Linked DNA regions of Homo sapiens: region 2 is linked to region 1. The links are contacts of gene promoters, found by promoter capture Hi-C in blood cells and fetal thymus (Javierre and others, 2016). All regions are on one chromosome and are shown on one strand. The core of a region is centred on a gene start or on the middle of the fragment in contact, and the rest is flanking DNA. Distances in the headings are between cores, read along the strand shown.

Evidence for each region. Contacts are between HindIII fragments. The CHiCAGO score rates a contact against its expected background, and 5 or more counts as called.
Region 2: a contact is called between a fragment that was not itself captured here and the fragment with the promoter of TMEM238 in region 1, in 1 of 17 cell types (non-activated CD4 T cells). The highest score is 5.8, in non-activated CD4 T cells.

Annotation. Positions count from the first base shown.
Region 1 is chr19:55,380,574-55,385,541 of GRCh38, reverse strand. TMEM238 (transmembrane protein 238) reads left to right here and starts at 1,250. Exons shown (of 2, transcript NM_001190764.2): 1 at 1,250-1,820. The coding sequence starts at 1,283. The coding sequence ends at 1,813. RefSeq lists enhancers at 565-634, 665-734, 688-1,650 and silencers at 1,025-1,364, 1,655-1,744. The HindIII fragment of the contact is 6,498 bases long and covers 1-4,581 here.
Region 2 is chr19:54,201,353-54,206,305 of GRCh38, reverse strand. It overlaps RPS9 (ribosomal protein S9), which reads right to left. Exons shown (of 5, transcript NM_001013.4): 3 at 4,697-4,819; 4 at 1-30. Among named protein-coding and RNA genes, the nearest start is that of RPS9, 3.0 kb to the right of the region's middle. RefSeq lists an enhancer at 1-480. The HindIII fragment of the contact is 2,211 bases long and covers 1,231-3,441 here.

The DNA.
Region 1 (4,968 bases), core at 1-2,500:
TAGCCCCGGCACCTTTGGATATTTCCGGTCTTCGTAAGCCCTCGCGGTGATGGCCAATGAGGGCGCCGAGGCCCGCTCGGGTATTTTCGGAACCCTCCGGAAACGCTCTTGGGAGAGGTGTGTATGTTCGGAAATACTCCGTCTTCATTCGGAATCCCTCGGCTAATCCTGGCAGCCCTCTTGCAGTTCGCCCTCCCCAGGGTTTTCTTGAAATAAAACTCTTAAACTGTTTAAGCCTGGGGAGAACCTACACGGAAACTTCTCGCTGACTGCCACCCCAGGGGAGCGCGGATGCCCTCTAAGGGAGAATTGTTTGGAGGGAGGGAGATTTGCATGTGGCTTCTCTTGGCTCCCTTTAGGATTCTATAGATTTGCCGGTCCTCTTCCCTGCCCTCCACCTGTGCCTCCAGCCTATGGTGTGCCTGTCACACCCCATCAGCTCCCTGGGAGGTTATGATCCGTTGTCAGGGCCACCCTAAGGGGGCAGGAGCCTTGCCTGATATTTCTCTGTGTCCTCGGCCTCACCCACGCGGCATGGTGCTGGGGAGGCCTCAGAGACTCCTACTGAACAAAAGGAATGAGGGTGCCTGTGTCACCTCCCCAGGGCTCCTTAACTTGCGGTTACACCCGGGCACTCCTTGGGGCAGGGGCTTCGTCTGGTCCATAGGACTATCCTCCATAGGACAGTCGGGGTTCGCCCAGCTTCCTCCACGGGTGCGCTCTGGACCTGATGGGTCTCGTCCGTCCTTGTGCCCGTGGCTTCATTCGCTGAACACAGGAGACCCCAGAAGACACGCGCTGAGTGAAGGAAACTCAGCTTCCGCGGAACCCGGAGCTTCCCCTCTTAGATCACCCCGACTACTGGTTCTCGCGTCCCAGAGCTCCTTGGTGTCTAAAGGCCTTGTCTGATCTGCACTGTCTGATCTGCACAGGCTTCGGGAGGCGGACACTGAGCAGAAACAACGCCACGCCCGGCTCCGAGTGTCCCATGCTGCCACCACTAAAATGCCCTGATTTTTGGCCATATGTGACCTCCCTGGGTGGCACGGGCCCTAGGCACCCGTGGCTGTGCGCCTGGCTACCACCAGCTCAGGCCTCTGAGCAATAGCCCCTGCACGGAAACCACGACCAGGGTAACCCCGGCCGCGCCGGTTCGCGCCCAGCCCGGTTCAGGTGACCAGGCGGGAGCTTGGCACACCTGGCGCCGTCCCCTGACCCCGCCCCGGACCGGGCCGCACCCCGGAACGCTCTCTCTGGGCGCCAGCGGCGGCGGTGCAGGGCCATGGCGGCGGCGCCAGCGGTGTGCGCCTCGCAGGGGAGCCCGCCGGGTGCACCGTCCGCGCCGGCGGCCGCGCCAGCACCCGCGGCCGGCCTGGGCCGCTGCCGGATGGCGCTGCTGCTGGCCGTGGCGCTGGATGTGGCGGGCATGGCGGCGCTGCTGACCGGCGTGTTCGCGCAGCTGCAGGTGCGCGGCCGCGACTTCGGGGACCTGCTCATCTACTCGGGCGCGCTGCTGGTGTTCCTGAGCCTGCTGGGCTGGATCCTCTGGTACACCGGCAACATCGAGATCTCGCGCCAGGAGCTGGAGCGCGACTACGGCCTGCGGCCCTCGGCGCTCGCCCGCCTGGCGCGCAAGCTCTCCCGCCGCTGGTCGGCGCCCGCCGCCGCGGGCCAGCGCCCCGCGCCCGGCTCCCGGAGAGCGCGCCGAGCCGCCCGCGCGCCCCCGCCGCCCGCCGCCGGCTCCCGCCGCGTGCGCCTGCAGCTCGCCACGCTCGAGGCCGGGCCCGGGGCGGCGGGCGCGGGCAGCGAGTGAGGCCCAGGTGAGGGGCGGGCGGGGCAGGGCGGGGAGACGGAGGGACCGAGGGAGGGACGGGAATGGAGACAGACGGGGGAGCGATGGACAGATGGAGACAGAGAGCGGCCATGGGGAGGTAGAGTCCCAGGGCGGGGTGGAGACAGGGACGGGAAGGCTCTGGCGGAGAACCGCAGACACAGCAAGCACAGGTGCATACGTGGGGGAGGCTGTGAGACCCTGCCCCTGGAGATGGGAAGTGTGGGGGTCGAGTCACACAGTTAGGCCCCCCGCACGGGGAGAGCCCCAGCTTCCAGGTACACCAGGCCCCATTTTTTGTTTTGTTTTGTTTTGTTGTCGTTTGGGGTTGTTTTGAGACAGGATCTCTCACTGTCACCCAGGCTGGAGTGCAGTGGCGTGATCTCAGCTCACAGCAGCCTCGACCTCCTAGGCTCAAGCAGTCCTCCCACCTGAGCCTCCCAAGTAGCTGAGAATACATGTGCGCCCCACCTTGCCGGGCTAATTTTTGTATATTTAGTAGAGACGGGGTTTTGCCATGTGGGCCAGGTTGGTCCCCACCTCCTGAGCTCATGCGATTTGCTCTCCTCAGCCTCCCAAAGTGCTGGGATTACAGGCGTGAGCCACTGAGCCCAGACCAGGCCCCATTTAATCCTCTCCATGTAACTGGTCTCCAAGGTCACTACTATTACCATCCCCATTCTGCAGTGGAGGAAACTGAAGCGCAGAAAGGCGCCACATTTGCCCAAGGCCACACAACACGTAGGTGGAGGAGCTGGGATTCTCCTGACCTGTAGGCCTAGGAAAAGAGGAGCTGGGATTCTCCTGACCTGTAGGCCTAGGAAAGGAGGAGCTGGGATTTTCCTGACCTGTAGGCCTAGAAAAGGAGGAGTAAGAAGGACCAACAGCAGGAGAAATGAAGCCACCACACATTCACTCCCCTTTCCCCTCTACCTTCTATCTCTTTCCTAAACACACCTTTCCAGCTAGCCTGCCTCTGCTCAAAGACCTGCTGTGGCTCCCTCTTCACCTTTGGTTAAACTGAAGCACTCACTGGCCTGTGGACCCCCCATATTTTGGCCCCATTTCTCCTGCCTCTCTGCACTAATGGTGTCTCTTAGTCCACAGATAGCCAGTTGGTCCCTGTTCCTGCTCTTCTCTACACCAGGAGTGCCCTTGGCTGTCTCCACTCCACCCAGAAAACTTCTCACATGTTTAAGATTTAACTTAATTTCTCTGGGTCTTCTCTGGGTCTTCATATTGTCTGAGCGACCCCTCTTGCTGCTTATATGGCCATGTGCTGTGTCTATGTTGTTACTGTCTCTCCCACCTGACAGGGAGTGCCTTGAGGGTAAGACCTAGGTCCCTAGCGTCCTTGTTCCTAGCATTGCCCAGCAAAAAGTGTGAAATCAGGAAAGGTTGATGGTTGGGTAGGGAAGTGGAAGGATGGATGGAAGAACGGATGGCTGGATGGGTGGATGGGTAGATGGATGGGTGGATGGATGGATGAGTTGGTTGATGGATGCATGGGTGAATGGATGATAGATTGATAGATGGGTGGGTGGGTGGATGGGTAGATCGATGGGTGCGTGGATGGATGAGTTGTTTGATGGATGGATGGGTGAATGCATAGATGGGTGGGTGGTTGGATAGGTGGATGGGTAGATGGATGGGTGGATGGACGGGTGAATGGACAGATGGGTGGGTGGGTGGATGGGTGAATACATGGGTTGGTTGATGCAGGGATGTGGTTGGATTGACGGATGGATGGGTTGTTTAATGGGTAGATATGGGTAGGTGGTGAATTGGGCAATGAACCATGAATGGATATGGTTGGAGAGGGAGCCCTGCCTGATAAAGGGGCAAGAGCTTTTCCTGATACTTCTCTGTGTCCTCGGCCTCACCCATGCAGCATGGTACTGGGGAGGCCTCAGAGACTCCTACTGAACAAAAGAAATGAGGGTGCCTGTGTCACCTCCCCAGGGCACCTTAACTTGCGGTTACACCTGGGAACTCCTTGGGGCAGGGGCCTCGGCTGGTCCATAGGACTATCCATAGGACAGTCAGAGTTTGCCCAGCCTCTGTGCGCTCTCTGGATAGATAGGTAGATGGGTGAATGGGTAGTTGAATAGATGGTTGGGGCTGAATGATAAGTACACAGATGAGTGGATGAATGCATTTAATGGCACATGGATGGTTGGGTGACTGAATTCATCTCTCAAATAGGGTTTTGGTAAAAGAATTAAACCCTATTATCCTAGGACGTTCTATGTAGGTAAATAATTAACTTTTTTTTTTTTTTTTTTTTTTTTTGAGATGGAGTTACACTCTTGTTGTCCAGGCTGGAGTGCAGTGGCGCAATCTCGGCTCACTGCAACCTCTGCCTCCCGCGTTCAAGCAATTCTCTTGCCTCAGCTTCCCGAGTAGCTGGGATTACAGGCATGCACCCCCACACCTGGCTAATTTTGTATTTTTAGTAGAGACGGGGTTTCTCCATGTTGGTCAGGCTGGTCTCAAACTCCCGATCTCGGGTGATCCGCCCACCTCGGCCACCCAAAGTGCTGGGATTACAGGCGTGAACCACCGTGCCCGGCTGGAATTAACTTTTCTCCTATGCATCCAGAATGCTACCAGTTATATATTATTCTTTGTGAGATTTGGGGAAATAGTCACCCCAATCATATGCTACGTGCCGTGATTCAGTGAAGGAACTGGGGTAAGAAAGCATGAACATCTGCTTGCACGGGTGAAGCGTAAGCTAACATGAAGCTTGGCATAGAATGCAAACATAAGCACCTGTAGTTACTGTTACCTTTGGAAATCCTGGCTGAGCACAGTGGCTCATGCCTGTAATCCCAGCACTTTGGGAGGCCGAGGTGGGAGAATTGCTTGCTTGAACCTGGGAGGCAAAGGCTGCAGTGAGCCAAGATCACGCCACTGCACTCCAGCCTGAGTGACAGAGTGAGAACCCGTCTCAAAAAAAGAAAGAAAAGAACATCCTTTATGAGGTTGGGCATGGTGGCTCATGCCTGTAATCCCAGCACTTTGGGAGGCCGAGGCGGGTGGATCACCTGAGGTCAGGAGTTCGAGACCAACCTGGCAACCATGGTGAAACCCTGTCTCTACTAAAAATACAAAAATTAGCCAGGCATGGTGGC
Region 2 (4,953 bases), core at 1,087-3,586, 1.2 Mb after region 1:
TGCGGACCAGCCGCCGCAGCAGGGCGTTGCCTGGGAAGAGTGGGAGGAAACACTGATTCCGCCTTCTGACCTCAGGCTTCTTGGGTTCAAATCCTGGCTCCGCCTCTTGGTAGCTCCATGCCGCGGCGGTGAGGCACAAGTAGTACAGCGCCATCACCGTGACCCATGTCACTGTCAAAACCACCCTACGGGCTGGGAGTGGTGGCTCACACCTGTAATCCCAGCACTTTGGGAGTCCGAGACGGATCACTTGAGGTCAGGAGTTTGAGAGACCAGCCCGGCCAACATGGCGAAAGCCCGTCTCCACTAAGATTACGAAAAATTAGCCAGGCCGTTGGCGCACTGCCTGTAATCCCAGCTATTCAGGAGGCTGAGGAAGGAAAACTGCTTGAACCCAGGAGGCGGAGGTTGCAGTGACCTGAGATGGGGCCACTGCACTCCAGCCTGGGCGACAGAGTGAGGCCCTGTCACAAAACAAAACAATACAAAAAACCAAACTACCCTATGGTTGTCAGGTCATCATTCATAGTAAACTGCAGATGACAGGAGGGCAAAATACACCTGCCTCCTCATCTGAGAGCATACATCCCTCGCTCCACATTCTTAGCAAGAGTAAAGGAAATCACCTCCTTACAAGGACTCAGTCTGCAAAAGACCAAATGCAGCTGCTATTAAGCTACTACCACCGTAACAAAGCACAGTGCTGAAGAGTTCATATCCTCAGCCCAGACAGCTCTTCTGATTAAGCAGATGTGAGATTGAATCACATTCCGTGCCATAAATAGCAGTATCTACATCTTTTAAGGAGAGAAAAGTAATTTCTAACACTAGAATTTTTCCAGCTAGGTACATGTCATTCATTTTACTATTCTGTACAAAATTTTCCACCAAAAATATATCTAGTATGTATATAACCTAACAATGCACTGCATAAAATATCCAACAGATGCCCTACTACACCTTTCTTCCAACCCCAGGCTCAGGACGGCTTGCTCCTTACCCTGTCCAAAGCCATGGCTTCTAGCTAATACTCTGGACTGCCCTTGCCCACAGCCCCAGGGCCCTGGGGGCAAACGCCATCCCCTAGGCTCCCGCTCACTGCTATAATCCCACACGCCTTCAGCAAATCAACTGCCCCTTGACTGGGGTAAACACCTCAACCTTTTTTCCTTATGTGCACTTTTATAAAAAGTGGCTCTTACTAGTTACAGCAAACCATTCAAGCAAGCTTTCATAAATAGATCTACATGCATCAGGCACTTCTGATATTCCTGGCACTGTTACCCTCCAAGCAAAGTTTGAAAGAAAGCTAGCTCACTTTGTGAGGACCCAAAGTTTTCCCAGTAGGGAGCAGTTACAGGTAGGGAGAATCAAAATGGAAACACCAGCTGTGTGCATTTCCAGCATCCTATGTCATACTATGGCTTCAATTTTTGTTCTTTTTTAACTCAACATCAGAGGATATTTAAACACCTGAATATCAAAATACAAAAACATGTCCAAAAGGCAATGAAAATGAGTTTGGGACCATTTACCTCTTTGGACACTTCACGCCTTTTTGTCTTTACATTAGAAAATGGAAACTTAAGCCACGCACAGTCCCTTATGCCTGGCCTATAAACCCAATATTTTGGGAGGCTGAGGCAGGAGGATCAGTTGAGTCCAGAAGTTTGAAACTAGCCTCGGCAACACAGTGAGACCGCATTTGTACCAAAACAAACAAAAAAGTAAAACTAAATTAGCCGGGCATGGTGGTACATGGTGGATTGTGGTCCCAGCTACTAGAGCTGAGGAGGATCACTTAAGCACAGGAGGTCCAGGCTGCAGTGAGCCACGACCATGCCACTGTGCTCCAGCCCGGGAGACAAAGTGAGATCGTCACCATTAGGCAAAACAAAGGCATGATTTTAAAAAAATGTTTCACATTTATTATCATTTTTGAGACAGAGTTTCGCTCTCGTTGCCCAGGCTGGAGTGCAATGGCGTGATCTCGGCTCACTGCAAACTCCGCCTCCTGGGATTCTCCTGCCTCAGCCTGGGATTAAAGGCATGCGCCACCACGCCCCGCTAATTTTGTATTTTTTCAGTAGAGACTAAGGGGTTTCTCCACTTTGGTCAGGCTAGTCTCAAACTCCCGACCTCGGGTGATCCGCCTGCCTCTGCCTCCCAAAGTGCTGGGATTACAGGCATGAGCCACTGCACTCAGGCCCACATTTATTGAACCATCTATCTCCTGAAAAAGAACAGGAGAGTCAGCCACAGGCAAAACCTTTAAGTATGAAGACAATAGTTTTCAACAGCACAATAAACCTTACACCTTCAACAAAAGCATGTCCTACTGCTGAGGCTCCACTGGGCCAATGCACCAAGAGAATTTAAAATGCTTTAAAAATGCAAACCAGGGAGGACCTCAGTGGGAAACAGGTCCTTGTCATCATACAAGGCAGTTAGGTATTACAATGCCTTCATTTCTGATCTGAAAAATGGACATGACTCCTACATTTCTTCACAGTTGTGCTGGGGGGTGGGGGGGGAGTTCGTGTTGTTTTGTGTCTCGCTGTCACCCAGTGCAGTGCCGCGGATCTCGGCTCACTGCAGTCTCTGTCTCCCAGGTTCAATCAATTCTCCTGCCTCAGCCTCCCGAGTAGCTGGGATTATAGGCACACCACCATGCTCGGCTAATTTTTGTATTTTTCGTAGAGATGGAATTTCACCACGTTGGCCAGGCTGGTCTCTGACTTGAGGTCTCCTGACCTCAAGTGATCCGACCACCTCGGTCTCCCAAAGTGCTGGGATTACAGGCATGAGCCACCACGCCTGGCCTCTATCTGTTGATTATTAACTGCCAGCCAAATGTTGGCGGCTGTTCAGTCTTAACAGACGAGACTCAGAATCTCGCTAGTCACACATCTTAGTGGGAAAGGCAGGATCTGAATCAAGGCAGGATTACACCAAAGAGCAAACATCCAAGCTCCTCCTTCCTGTCCCTGACTAGGCTAGATGGCTTCATTTACTAGAAAGTGTACTCACCTGAACAACTGTGTACCCCTTGGGAATTTTCACTTCTGCCTTGGAAAACCACAAATAACCCTCAGACACCTGCACCGCTTTCTCACATGACTGTAAGTTTCATTGCAATTAGGATCTATGTCCAGAAAGTCCTCCCTAAAACCAGAACCAGCTATAGCCCACTCCCCACAGAACCCTGGGATGAATTCCCACCCAGCATCAGTATCTATGGGGGAGGGATCTCCAGCACTTTCATGAGATTATCAACGGGGTCTACAAATTGACGAAAAGAATGAAAGGGTCAGGTGCGGTGGCTTACACCTGTAACCCCAGCACTTTGGAAAGCTGAGGTGGATGGATCACTTGAGGTTAGGAGTTGGAAACCATCCTGGTCAACACTGCAAGATCCTGTGCCTATTTAAAGAAAAAGCTTCTAACATCTGCAAGCCTGGGACAAACTGTGATAATCTGTAGCTAAACATGCGCCAGGACTTTCTCAACGCCTAACATGGATGACCACTCTCATGCCTAACAGTCAGGGCTCAGGTGTAGAGACTGCTTTTCACCATAAATCATGACTACCCAAACTCAGGCAAAAGCAGCGTCTCAGGATATACAAATGCCAATCTTGGTCATGCCAATCTGCTGTAGAAAGCACTCCAATAACACCGCATCTCAGAGTAGATTTTAAAACAAGATGGTTAAGATGGTACATTTTCAATTTAATGTGTATTTCACCACAATTAGTAAAGTAAGCCTAAGTCTATGTGATCTGCATGCCCTCCTAAAGTCATCACCTGAAATGCTGTTCCCTGAGACATTTTACAGGTTCTCTCCTGTTCAGGCCTTTGCTAAATACCACCTAAATGTCCTTGACCAGCTTAAAAAAACAAGCACCAGCCTGGACAACATGGTGAAAACCCATCTCCACTAATAATAGAAAATTAGCCAGGCTTGGTGGCCCATGCCTGTGATTCCAGCTACTTAGGAGGCTAAGACAGGAGAATCGCTTGAACTCTGGAGGCGGAGTTTGCAGTGAGCCAAGATTGCGACAACTACACTCCAGCATGGGCAATGGAGCGAGACTCCGTCTCAAAAGTAAAATTAGCCAGGTGTGGTGGCGTGCGCCTGTCTGTAGTCCCAGCTACTTGGGAGGCTAAGATAGGAGAATTGTTTGAACCCAGGAGGCGGGGGTTGCAGTAAGCCGAAATGGCGCCACGGCACTCCAGCCTGGGCAACAGAGCAAGACTCCGTCTCAAAAGACTAAATAAAACGAGAAAACTTAATTAAAAAAACAATAAACCAAGCAAATGTGCAAACCCTGTTATCACCATCACTTAGCCCAGAAATTCCACTTCATAGTCTACTCTCATCCACTAGCAAACAGGCCACATAAACAGAATATAAAGATATAGACGGGTGCCCAGGTGTGCCAGGCCTATCTTTAGCTCTGGTCATTACTAAACTGAAGGTCCAATAACTGGGCAAAAAAGCCACACACCTAAGAAACAGGGCAAAGACTGATCCAGATACACTTTTCCTACTCCACAAGTGCCACTAAAAGTTAGAAGGCTGGTTCCATTTATCCAATGACACAACTCTCATCACTGGAACAGAGGCAACAGAAGGGAGAATGAACCTCACAAGCCCTGCACCCCATCCCTCTGCTGTGGACTCCCATACGCACCTTCGAACAGACGCCGTGGGTCCTTCTCATCAAGCGTCAGCAGTTCCCGGGCGGCCTTGCGGATCTTGGCCAGGGTAAATTTGACCCTCCAGACCTCACGTTTGTTCCGGAGCCCATACTCGCCTGGTGGGGAGAAGGGGGTGGACAAGTGTAGTCCCACGTACTGGCACAACAACTAGACTGGCAGCTTTGGAATCACAAAACCTTCCTAAACCACGAATAGTACCAAATTTAGGGGACGGACTAGATAGAGTACA